4 separate regions of the Homo sapiens genome follow, and regions 1, 2 and 3 are each linked to region 4. The links are contacts of gene promoters, found by promoter capture Hi-C in human tissues and cell types (Jung and others, 2019). All regions are on one chromosome and are shown on one strand. The core of a region is centred on a gene start or on the middle of the fragment in contact, and the rest is flanking DNA. Distances in the headings are between cores, read along the strand shown. Region 1 overlaps RNLS (renalase, FAD dependent amine oxidase). Region 2 overlaps LIPJ (lipase family member J). Region 3 overlaps RNLS (renalase, FAD dependent amine oxidase). Region 4 holds the start of KLLN (killin, p53 regulated DNA replication inhibitor).

Region 1 (3,276 bases), core at 362-2,861, 620 kb before region 4:
TATGCTTACTAGAGTTAAAGGTCCTGTATGAGGTGACATTTCTAAGATTGTCTCAAAGGTAGAAGTAAAATTTAAAATATGTTATTAAATAGGAAAATAGGCCTATGCAAATTAGATGAAGTTCTGGCAAGCCAAGTACAATGCAAAAACTCAGTAATTTAAGAATATGATAGACCAAGACTGAGTAAGTTTAAGTTTCACAGAAAGAGCTCAAACTAATAGGCAAACACTTGATGAATGTGAGCTTGTGCAGAGAACTAATACAATGCAAGAGTTTATTTAAAAAGAGTGTGACATACAAGTTTTAAGGAAGAATCTTTTTATTATGATCTTTTGGTAAATTTGTATTCATATGTTGCATCTGGATTTTTTTCTACTATACCTTTTAGAAAGTAGGAACTTAAAAAAAAAAAAAAAGAAAAAAAGAAAAGAAAGTCCAGAGAAGAATGGCTGATATGAAAAAGTCATGAATGGAAAATAGGTCCTTCAAAAGGGCAAATAAAAGGAATTTGGGTTACTTTTCTGAAAATGGGAAAGGCTAAGAGATGGCAGCATAATTTTTAAAACTAGGCTAAGAATCAACAGCTGTTATTTCTAGTTCAAGGTCGTCTTTGCTTAGACAAATCCAATGATGATGATGATGATGATGATACTGATATTTCTAAAATTGACACTAATATTTATAGAGGACTAATGCTTACCATTTACATGGGTTGTCTTATTTAACTTCATAATCATATTATGTGGTGAATACTTAAATTAGCTCCATTTTTCAGAATAGAAAACTGTATATAATTTTCCTCAGATGAAAACAGTGCTATTAAAATGTGTCCTACTTACTGCTTCAGGTGGAAACATGAAAATGATTTGCAACACTCTAGCTGCCAAGGTTTATTTGTCTTCCTAAAATTATAGGAATTCTATGTAACGATGCTTCATGATCCAAGTAAGGGAATATTGGCCTCAAAGCAAAGCCATTGACTTTTCGCTCTGATATAATTAAAGGCAACAAGAGGTTGTTGAATACCTGTTATATGCTTAATATGTTTTCAGATGCCATGCTAGGATATACAAAGAAGAAACAAGACTGAAACATATTTAATGTTCTATAATAGTTTTAGCAAATGATTGTTGATCACTATATGTTCATTTAGTCTTCACAACAACCCTATGAAGTAGCTACTATCATCCTCATCTTACAGATGAAGAAATAGTACCTAGTTAATGACAGAACTAGGATTCAAACCCAGGTACTTGGGCTCCTCAGCATGGCTTGAGAGACAGACAGAAAGAGAGAGAGAGAGAAAGAAAGAAAGAGAAAGAAAGAAAGAAAGAGAAAGAAAGAAATGAAAGAAAGAAGGAAAAAGAAAAAAAGGTAAATTAGTTAAGGCTATGTGAAGTCAGGAAAAGGGAAAAGTCATTTTGAACCAGTTTGAACAAGTAGCTTCAGTATCCTTAAAGTGATGGGTTTGTGTGCCAGAAAATGGTACAGAGTATATTATAAGTTGTATGGGAATGAGCAGAGCATATTTCGAGTGAACGGAAGCTGGAAAGGGCAGTTGAGGATGGATAAGCCCTGTGTCTTGTGGGTTTATTTTTTATCTGGGGGGACAGTGGAGAGACTTCAAGTATACCAACCTGCCCAGGCATGCTTTGATGACTAGAGGTATATGTGGGATAAGGTAGGGCCACATATAAAGGGATCTTTAATAACAGAGTGAGGTATTTGAACTTGAGATGATAGGTAGTGAGGGATCATGTGTCATAATGAAACCCAGCCATCTGGTTAAAATTAGCAATTGGCCCTGAGGTGATAAAATACTGGCAAGCTAGGAGTGGGCCTAAAAATGAAATGATGAATCTGACAGAAATGTTGAAGACATATTACCAAATATCAGATACTAACTGGATAGAAGGAATAAGAGAAAGTGGGGAGTCAGATGGGCTCGCGTTTTCAAGCCTAAGAAACTTGGGAGATTAGAATAACTGGCACCAAGAAACTGGGACAAGGAATGCATTTAGGTAGGAGAAAGTAAATGTTTTTTAAATGTTTGAAAGATAACATGAGAGCCATTTTGGAATGGATTTTAAAGTCCTTGTTGATAGTTGACTTCAATCCACAGTAGGTCCTGAGACAGCTAATCTTAAGTTTTAATAATTCTTTACTTTTAAGAAGTTACCAGATAAAAATCTATCCAGGATAAATGTTAATCTATCTGAAATAGGCACTGGGCCATATGGCCTCATAAGATTCCATGCATGATTGCATTCAACAGACACATACTGTGAACCTCCAGCTAGTATTGCATAGTAGTTGGTGTCATAGCTTAGTAATGAACAGTGTGTCCTCTAGAGTCAGGCAGAACTTGGGCCATATCAGCTCCTGCTCTGGACAGCTGTGTGAACTTGGCAAAATACTTACCCTCTATCATTCTGAAGCTTCTTAGATGTGAAACAAAGATCATGATAGCACCCACCTCATAGGAAGGTCATGGAAATTAAGGGGGATGATGCATGTGAAGCCTTTAGCCTAGTGTCAAGCACACAGAAGATGATCAGTGTTATCTGTCACATACCACTGTTATTGTCTTCCACAGTCTTCAAATTTCTGTCATCCCTGTCATCACTATCATCCTTGTCATCGTTGCCATCCTTGTTTCACCATCATCCCTGTCTTCACCATCATCACAATTGTCAGTGTTTACATCAGCGTTGCTGTTGTCACCATCATCCTCTTCCCCATTGTCATCCCCACCATCGCTGTCATCCCCATCATCATTATCTCTGTCTTCACCATCTTTCTCTCCTTCCCTGTCATCCCGGTCATCACCATCATAACTGACATCCCATTGTCACCTTCATCCCTAACTTCACCATCATCCTTATCATCTTGCTCATACCATCAAGGCACCTGCTTTGTTGTTCCTTCGTCAGTTTTTCTGTGAGCAAGTCCTGAATATCAGCACTTTGCACTTTCTCCATAGGGCAGATGTACACATGGAACAGTCTTTGAATGGTTATTGTTAGCTTAGTCACACTGTACCATTTTCCAGTTCTTGTTCTAATAATAGATAGTATCTATTATTTAATGATATTGATACAAAAATATAATTTGCTTGAATTACTCTTGTTTTGGGTTAATCCAAGAATTTGAGTTTCATTTATAATATAGCAGATCAACTGCTTGAAAAAAAAAGGCCACACTATTATCGCTTTCTTACTTTTTGTGGCAAAACTGCACAGCATAAAGCATTTACAAGCTTATCTCTGTTTAAA
Region 2 (2,944 bases), core at 232-2,731, 730 kb before region 4:
TGAGGAACAATAAGAACAAAAAAAACCATAAAAATTGACTCATCAGATTGAAGATGTGTATATATATATATGTGTGTGTGTGTGTGTGTGTGTATATATGTATGTATATATAAATGTATGTGTATATATATACATACATACACACTGTGGAATATTAATCAACCATAGAAAAGAAAAAATTCTGCCATTTGTGACAGCATACATGAACCTGGAGGGTACTAGTAAGTTAAATAAGCCAAATAGAGAAAGACAAGTACTGTATGGTATCACTCCTACGTAGAATCTTAAATAAATAAATAAATAAAAGAGTGAGCTCATAGAAACAGAGTAAAATGGTGGTTGCCAGGGTCTGGCAGGTGGGAAAAATGGGGACATGGTGGTCAAAGGGTATAAACTTTCAGTTATATAGTAAATACATTTTGAGGATTTAATGTACAGGATGGTGACTAGCTAATAATACTGTACTGTATACTTGAAATTTGTTAAGAGAATAGATCTTAAGCATTATCACCAAAAATATGACTATGTGAGGTGATAGATGTGTTAAACTTGATTGTGGCAATTATTTCACAATGTATTTATTTGTCAATTGTACCTCAATAAAAAGAGAGAAAATTTCTTTTGTTTCCATTGCCATTCAGGCTACTTGAAACTGTCAAAAATAAAGTTCTGACTGAACAATTTTAAATAGCCTGTACAGAAATTTTTAACAGAAACATTCTTCTCAGGTATTTATCATGTCCTCTATATATTAAATTAATATAATATATTATTATAATATAATATAATATTTTATATTATTGTAATAATATAATATATTATATTATTAAATACAATATAAAATATTATATTATTAAATATAATTAAATTATATAAATTTAAACTCAGGTATAAATTAAAACTCAGGTATTTATTATGTCCTCTAATTATAATTCTTCTCTGTATTTGAAATAAGCTCCAATATAATGCTTAGTTTTCTGGTACACTCCAGATATTCCTTCCATCATGGGTCACTACTGTTTACCTTAATGTAGGTCAGAGGCTTATACAACCCAAATCGCACTGTTCTGTTCATCCTTCTGGATGAAGAAGTGCACAGTAGCTTTCATAAACACCTGTCAGGCCTATCTGTGAGCAATATGAAATGTTTACCAGAGTCTCTACTTCACCTTTATCAGAAAGATAAGAAGGAATCCATTCCCTGAAAGGGACCTAAATAATAATCACACACCCTTGACAGCTGCACTCAGATATCTCAGCCTCATTTCCCCTCATAAGAGTTAGAATTTCTTTTTGTAAATCATCACCAAAAAATTGTAACACCTGGACAAGGTCAAAACTTTGGTTGTTTGATGATACATTTTCCAAGTCACATTGTGAGCATTTTTATCATCTGTTTTTTCTTGCATCATGACTTGCTTTCAGTTCTCATGACTTGCTTTCAATTCTCTGGTTGGTTTTCCACACCTGAGTGACATCAGTCAGATTCCACTCACTGCCTTTTCACAAACTACCAGATTCTCTTTTGGTTTTTCATACTGGCTCTAAGCAAATAATTTTAAGCCAGACCCTACTTCCTCCACAGATCTTGCTAGGCTCAAGAGACTGATTCAAGCTGAACCACAGTTTCACAATTAACTATTTCCAAACACACTGTGCGTGAAAATTTTCTACTTCCAACTTCCTACAATTTCAGCTAAATTAAGACACAGTCATATTACAATCTACAACACTGTCAACTTCTGTTGCAGAAGAAATGCCACAGTTTTGGAGGCTAGAAAACCAGAGTGTAAGCTTTTCTAATAATTTATACACAAAAAAGAGTTCTCAGAGACATCACATTATAATTACAAAAAAATATAGAATTGGCCAAATATACTACCTAAAACATAGAATGAGTGGATAAGTAAAAATAAACATTGTATTTATGATTCTTCCAGGCCCCTCATAGTAGGTGCTTAGCACTAGATGAACAGAAAAATATGAAAAAGAGGGAATATGAAAGTAATCCTTTCTGCCTTCTCATATCTTTATGGGTGGAAAAGACGAGAACTGAGTTTCTTATAGCATTCTAAAAATAAAGTAAGGTTGAACAAAATCAACAAAGTCAACAAACATGTCCTTGTGGCATAAAAATGTGTTTGGGAATTAAGAGAATACCTATCTTTCTTTGAATGTCTATATTGGCTCTCTTTGAGAAGCTCTTAAAAGGTCCAGGTACAAGAACCAACCTCTAGTCCAAATGGCACATTTGCTTCTGCCAAATCTGGATGTTTAATTTAATGTGATGAAAAACACTTAGAATGAATGCCTATATTCTTAAGAGAACCTATACACAATCAATCCAAAGGTTTTGGTAATAGTACCTTGAGTACCACAATAGTTTCCCACTCCAAGAGTATTGATAAAAGCTAGAAACTTAAAGATAATTGGAAGGCACTAATTCTAATTATGGAAGGATCAACAAGGATAGGAAGGAGTATTAGGAACCAGGAGGAGCAGTTATGGAGTTACAGGAAACAAATGAATAGAAGAGGACCTAAATCTTAGAAGTCTCAGGAAACTAATACCCAATAGCAAAGGTCAATAAAGATACCCATCACATCAGCTGCTCTCGAATATTTACAGACAGCAAGACAAATATGGAAGTAAAATAATCCCAGCATGTTCATGCAAGTTAGTTGTACAATGTTGGTGTAGTCATAAAATCAGATAGGCTAAGAATCTGACTACTAGTGTATGTGGATGAAACACAAAATGACACAAGGTATAACACAAGCACTATTATTATTATACTTTCCAAATATTGGAAAATATATATATTTCAAATACAACTTGTTCTTACCATATTTAAGTTTTTTGGGTCATATCCAAACATCATAAACAAGATATTGAGGCAAATCTTATCAAAAATCTGTAGTGGACACAGCTTTGAACCAATGAA
Region 3 (3,040 bases), core at 502-3,001, 590 kb before region 4:
TATTATATATATCATCAAGAAAATATATGATAGAAATAAAATATATCATATATATAAAATTAAGGAAAGTTGTAATAGTAATAAAAGTAAACTGAAAGTATACTCAGGAAACCCATAAGAATTTTAGTTTTGCTAAAGCTTTGGGTGTTTATTCAACCTTCTTAGATACTTTGGAGTACCTTGAGTTTTAGTGCCCAGCATGGGGAGACATTGCATGGAAATAACCATTCCTAATTTGCTTAGTTGAAACAGAAAACAGGAGAGTCTGCTGGCAGTAAGACAAAATTATTTTCTTTCCAAATCTTAAGAATTTGGCTTAGGACTGGGTTTTGTCAAAGAATGTTCTTGCTGACATCTCATCCAGCTTCTTCCATCCCTTGAGCCCATCAGTTAAAACTGTTCGATGCTCACTGGAGCTAAGTCCTCTTGGGAGGCTTTTAATGGAGGTAGATTACTATTCATTTTAAAACAAAAAGATCAAATGATGAGTGGGCATGCATTGGGATAAAGCGATTTTTGTTTTGTTTTGTTTTGTTTTGTGGGAAATAACCAAGTCACTGGGAGTTTTTTCTAACAGAAATGTAAATACTGTGTTGACTATCTGTTCCCAGTTTTTTCTCATGAGGAAAAAGAGAAAAGGGAGGATTTAAAATTAATTACAGGCCAGGCGTGGTGGCTCACGCCTGTAATTCCAGCACTTTCGGAGGTCGAGGCAGGCGGATCACGAGATCAAGAGATCAAGACCATCCTGGCTAACACGGTGAAACCCTGTCTCTACTAAAAATACAAAAAATTAGCTGGGTGTGGTGATGGGTGCCTGTAGTCCCAGCTACTCGGGAGGCTGAGGCAGGAGAATGGCGTGAACCCGGGAGGTGGAGCTTGCAGTGAGCCGAAATCGCACCACTGCACTCCAGCCTGGGCAACAGAGCAAGACTCTGTCTCAAAACAAAACAAAAAAATTAATTATAAGGCCATGTAGTTAGAGGTAATTACAGGAAGAATTCCTTGCTTGCATGGGTTTTTAAATATCTGAACTAGTTGCCCTAGTAGGTTTGGAACGTTTATTTCTATAAATTTTCTAGAAAGCAATTGATTTTTTTTTCCCTTTACTTTGATTGTCCATCATTCCAATCAACCTGCAAGAGATACATCCACACCTGTAGCCATCCTGGTTATACCTTCTTCCTAAGGCTGGCTGAATTGCCCACTTCTCTGTGGCTCCATAGTACTTAGTACATACTACTCTCACAGTGCCTTTGAAATTATATGGCAGTTTGTGTGCTTCTCTAGCTACTAGTCTGTGAACTTCTTGAGAACAGAACATATGTTGTTTATTTTTATGCTTGTTTTTATTCTTTCAATCTTGTTTCTCAGTTCCTAGTATATCTGTTATCTGCCTGACAGATAACAGTATTCAATAAATAGCTGTTGAATTGAATAAAAATGAGTATTTATATAGATCAAATAGTTCCAATTCAGGAAATATGTCCAGACTTGCTTAACTAACTCTTAGGGGAATAGGCAGGAATCATCTATTCTCCTTGCTTCTGTGTTATCTACCAGACCTCCATACACCCCTACGTTTATCCCCACACTTTGGAACAAGTTCTACTTCTTGCCTCTTTGGTCACAGGGGAAAGATGTCTGATAAATCTACCCAGATTGAGTTGTAATTGACTTTAATATGTTTCCCCTGAGTGACTTAAGCACCTCTGGTTTATTTGAGCTCTGGGTAATTGTTGGTTAGGCTTTATAACTTTCAGTAAGGAGTTGACCTTGTTGGAGGTTTGAAGGTCATAATCATTTACCTGCCATTTATAAATTCTAACAGATACAAAGAGCCAAGTGGATATCACAGCATTATTAATGGAACCCTGTGGACTCCTAAAGAACAAAGCCCCTGCTAAAATGGGATGTGAGAACATGGCTTAAACAGGAAGCTGAAGTCCATGCTTCCTCTGACTTCTCCAGACATGGATACAGCAACTACCTAAGGGAAAAGGTGGATCTACATACAAAATTGATCCTGTATATTTCCTCCCACAATGCCATCAAAATATGGCTGGAAAATGGCACCAAGGCCTCCTAATTATCAAATCTGATAGTCATTTGTTTTATTTGATACTCAATTTGTTATTTGACTCTGTTGAATACATCTTTCTTGAATTTCTTTCTACCCTAGGCTTCCAGGATTATCTCTTCTCTCACCAACCATTCTTTCATGGACTCTTTCTTCTCTTTTCAGCCCATAAGTGTTGGTATTTCTCAGGGTTCTGTGATAAGCTATCTTCTCTTCTAATTCTACCCATAATCCATCAGGAATCTCATCCACTCCCATAGTTTCTAGTCTGTATTCCAATAACTCTGTGAAATTGATATTGCCAACCAGATCACTATTCATATTCTAGATCAATATGTTCTTGTTTGTTTTTAATTCCACAAATATTCAACAAGTTACTGTGTCATAGTAAACAGTGAGAATACAAAGAGTCTCTGCTGTTAAAAAACAGGTAATATAAACAGAGTGCAGTGGTAATACTCAAGAATATTTTGAAAGCACTAAATAAGAAAACTCAGATCAAACCAGGAAATTTAGAGGAAGAACTTAGAAAGAAAGGATGTCATCAGTGATTCTAAAATGCTAGTTAACAGCTTTGTTACGAGAGTAGAAGGAGTAATACCAGCAGAGAACACATAAATAAGGAGCAAATTTCTCCACATGAATGATCTGCAGATACTCAGAAATAGCATGTTTGTCACAGGTTAGGTTTCCCAGAAAGCAGGCTCTGGACAAGATTTGCATGCAGGAAGAGGGGATGCTCTTGGCTGGATACCTATGGGAGAATGAAAGAAACTGGATTGGGCTGAAGGGAGCTTGAACTGCCATTCAATCACAACAAAGTCTCTGATGATCCCAGTGAGACCTTTGCAGCTGCAATAACTCCTTAAAGTTCCCTAAATGGGAAGCAAAGGGACAGGCCTTTAGACCCTTCTATCACCCAGTCATTGGATGTGGGCTACCGCCGGGAAGGAGCATGAC
Region 4 (3,303 bases), core at 792-3,291:
GGTAAAATACAACTGACATTCTACACAAATCAGTAAAATTAACGATACCAAAAGGTGTCAGAGGACCTGAAACCTAAAAACGGTGAGCAGCAATTCTGGCATCACAACAATACTTAAATTTCAAGCATGAACTGAAGTTTTATTTCTGCAATCTTCACTTGCTACACACAATACCCTTGAACCTACACATTACCATCTGGGATCAGAAACTACTCAATATCCATTCTATGTTTATGACAAGAGCACTGAACATTAAATGCTACTGAAGTGCAAATTTCAAGCACTATCCTACATCACCCCATAGGGAGAGAAAAAGGTAAATATAACAAAGATCTAGTAAGAACGCCTTATAAGGTATATTATGGCACTATTGACTTCAAACTACAAAACTTCTACATACAGTTCAAAGTTGTAGGTAACTTAAGTTTAAACATTAACAAAACTACTTTTTGCCCTCAATGTGCACCATATATACTGAAAATGATTCTGCTTCTAAAGTTATGCAAATCAGTCATATTTTAAAAGAATCTATCAATGCAACTCAGGAAACTAAAACAATCACTGCAAGATTCTGATGCAATATGCGTACGTGCAACACTAATTTTCATTTTATTCTGATCTAAACCCTTGATCTAGGGCCTAAGCCAAGATTTAATCGAAATATGCTCAACCTCAAAAAGCGTCTACTTTTTTGTTCATTTAGGAGACCGGATTACCGAGCTCGCTAATCCACTAACAGTGTACTGTATTCTGTATTAACGGACAATAGCCCTCAGGAAGAGACCATATAGATAGCCTAAGAAAGCAATCGGTGGCTTGACACTTGCAACCAGGCAAGAGTTCCGTCTAGCCAAACACACCCTAGGTTGAATACACAGAAAGGAAACACAAAATATATGACCTAGCAACCTGACCAGGGTTAAATGTTATAGTCACCCAAACTACGGACATTTTCGCATCCGTCTACTCCCACGTTCTAAGAGAGTGACAGAAAGGTAAAGAGGAGCAGCCGCAGAAATGGATACAGGTCAAGTCTAAGTCGAATCCATCCTCTTGATATCTCCTTTTGTTTCTGCTAACGATCTCTTTGATGATGGCTGTCATGTCTGGGAGCCTGTGGCTGAAGAAAAAGGAGGAGAGAGATGGCAGAAGCTGCTGGTGGCGGGGCTTCTTCTGCAGGATGGAAATGGCTCTGGACTTGGCGGTAGCTGATGCCCCTCGCTCTGCCGCCGCTTGGCTCTGGACCGCAGCCGGGTAATGGCTGCTGCGGCGGCTGCTGGATGGTTGCAGCGACTGGGCCTGCTTCTCCTCAGCAGCCAGAGGCCTGGCAGCGGCGGCAGCGGAATGGGGAGAAGACGAATAATCCTCCGAACGGCTGCCTCCGCCGGCGGCCTCCGGAGCCCGGGCCACGGGGGGTGCGGCGGCGGCGCACGGGAGGTTTAAAACCGGCCCGGGTCCCTGGATGTGCCAGCCGCCGCCGCCGCCGTGTTGGAGGCAGTAGAAGGGGAGAGACCAACTCTCCGGCGTTCCCAGCCCTGGAAATGGTGACAGGCGACTCAGACCCCCTCCCTGGAGCTGCAGCCGCCGCGGCCGCCGCCGCCGCCGCTTCTCCCCCCCGCTCCAGGAGCGGGAGGTGCCGCCGCCGCCGCCGCGCCTCAGCCGGCTCCCGCCCGAGCCCACGGCTTCCACCTTCCCTTTCAGGAGAAGCCGAGGAAGAGGCTGCACGGTTAGAAAAGACGAAGAGGAGGCGAGAAACGCCGCCGCTGCCGCCGCCGCAGGCCGGCCGGCTCCCCGAGGGCGCTGCCCCCGCGGCTGCTCACAGGCGCTGAGAGGGGCTCCGGGCCGCGGCCGCCGCCGTCTCTCATCTCCCTCGCCTGAGCCCGGCCTCGCCTCACAGCGGCTCAACTCTCAAACTTCCATCATGGCTGCAGCTTCCGAGAGGAGAGAACTGAGCGCAGTCGCGTCCCAGCGCCGAGCGCGTATCCTGCCGCAGCGCATAAAGAGTCCCGCCACATCACCGCCCGCCGGCCTGCCCGCCCCCTCCGCCGCCGCGCCGGGAGCCCGGGCGCCTCGGAAGACCGAGGGGAGGCGGGAGGCGAGCGAGAGGCGGACGGGACCGCGCCGGGCGAGGGGAGGGCAGGGCAGGGCAGGGGGCGGTAGGAGGGGGCAGAGCGGTAGCTCTGGGTGCGAGCGCAGAGTCCCCAAGCCGCAGGCTCTACTGAGCATGCCCAGTGTAGCTGCCTGGGGCTTGCTCGGGCCGGTTCCCAGCCGCCAGCCTGCAGCTGCACTTGCTGCGGCTTTTGCAGCAACGCGAGGCGAGGATAACGAGCTAAGCCTCGGCCTCTGCCCAGAAACCCAGCCGGAGGCAGGGTAGGCTGTTGTGGGGCGGGGGTGGAGGACTGATGATGAAAGCTGAGATGGGTGCGTTGAGCAGTGTCACTGACTCGAGTCTGAGGTTACCTGTGCACAGGTGAAAAGGACCAGGTGACCACGCTGCTCAGTGTAGAGGGAAATGCAGGGACGGTCCCTGCAAGGGGAATACCCTCCCCCCTTGCCTCTACCCCTAGATTTCCGCGGCGTGGACTGCATTCGCTCTTTCCTTTTGCACCGCTGTCGGATCACAATCGTTCGCAGAGATTTGACTGTAACAGCCTTTGCCTAGAGATTCCCCCTTCCCCCAAATCTGTGTCCTCATGGTGTCAGTCTTAGCACAAAGAGCAACCTGCTATTGTGTCGCCAGCGTGTATCACCTCATCCGGCTCCCTTGCAGCGCCCCACCTCTCGCTTCCCCGGTAACTCGGCTCGTTTGCCCTAAAAATGAAAGCTCTCAGCCGAGCGTGCTGAACGTGAACACATAGCCGTTGAATTTCAAGGGCCCAAAGGGCACCTATCTAAATGAACTGAAAGAGGATCCCTGTGAGTGGGACGCACCCCGCAGGCCTCTCCTGCGCCCGCTCCGGTGCCCCCAAGAGAGTCGAGCATCTTTCCCCTCGGGCTCCAGGTCGGTTCGCGGCGTCGGAGTCAAGCTCGGTTCTCAGAGACCACCTAGCCCCGCCCCCCCTTGGCCGCCGTGAAAACCCGGCAGGATGGATCGCCCGGGGCCAGGCTCCGCGCGCCCCGGCCGGACCGTGCACGTTTGGGGTTACCGGGTTGAGTGGAAAGTACGGAACGGTAGGAAGCTGCAGCCCAGCGAGTGGGCGGGGCGAGGAGACCTAGGAGGGTTCAAAAGGAGGTGGAAGGATACACGGGCCACAGTCGGAACTACTTTCCGAAGGAGGTCACGTGTGTCCCTAGTTGGGGAAC

Evidence for each region. The method cuts DNA at HindIII sites, captures the fragments that hold promoters and counts their contacts. A contact is called where the count stands out against the background at its distance.
Region 1: a fragment that was not itself captured here is called in contact with the fragment with the promoter of KLLN in region 4 in 1 of the 25 tissues and cell types used here (lymphoblastoid cells).
Region 2: a contact is called between a fragment that was not itself captured here and the fragment with the promoter of KLLN in region 4, in 1 of the 25 tissues and cell types used here (lymphoblastoid cells).
Region 3: a contact is called between a fragment that was not itself captured here and the fragment with the promoter of KLLN in region 4, in 1 of the 25 tissues and cell types used here (mesenchymal stem cells).

Annotation. Positions count from the first base shown.
Region 1 is chr10:88,476,935-88,480,210 of GRCh38, reverse strand. The region is part of intron 4 of RNLS (renalase, FAD dependent amine oxidase); the gene reads left to right. Among named protein-coding and RNA genes, the nearest start is that of RNLS, 100 kb to the left of the region's middle. The HindIII fragment of the contact is 3,732 bases long and covers 1-3,276 here.
Region 2 is chr10:88,596,838-88,599,781 of GRCh38, reverse strand. LIPJ (lipase family member J) reads right to left here. Exons shown (of 11, transcript NM_001010939.3): 8 at 2,846-2,944. Among named protein-coding and RNA genes, the nearest start is that of LIPJ, 12 kb to the right of the region's middle. RefSeq lists an enhancer at 1,285-1,424. The HindIII fragment of the contact is 3,756 bases long and covers 1-2,944 here.
Region 3 is chr10:88,453,327-88,456,366 of GRCh38, reverse strand. The region is part of intron 4 of RNLS (renalase, FAD dependent amine oxidase); the gene reads left to right. Among named protein-coding and RNA genes, the nearest start is that of RNLS, 130 kb to the left of the region's middle. The HindIII fragment of the contact is 6,199 bases long and covers 1-3,040 here.
Region 4 is chr10:87,862,271-87,865,573 of GRCh38, reverse strand. KLLN (killin, p53 regulated DNA replication inhibitor) reads left to right here and starts at 2,041. Exons shown (of 1, transcript NM_001126049.2): 1 at 2,041-3,303. The coding sequence starts at 3,087. MLDHR (mitochondrial lactate dehydrogenase regulator) reads right to left here and starts at 2,015. Exons shown (of 1, transcript NM_001433720.1): 1 at 1,920-2,015. The coding sequence starts at 2,015. The coding sequence ends at 1,920. PTEN (phosphatase and tensin homolog) reads right to left here and starts at 1,949. Exons shown (of 9, transcript NM_000314.8): 1 at 1,026-1,949. The coding sequence starts at 1,104. RefSeq lists silencers at 1,655-1,794, 1,885-2,194 and enhancers at 2,795-2,974, 3,225-3,303. The HindIII fragment of the contact is 9,209 bases long and covers 1-3,303 here.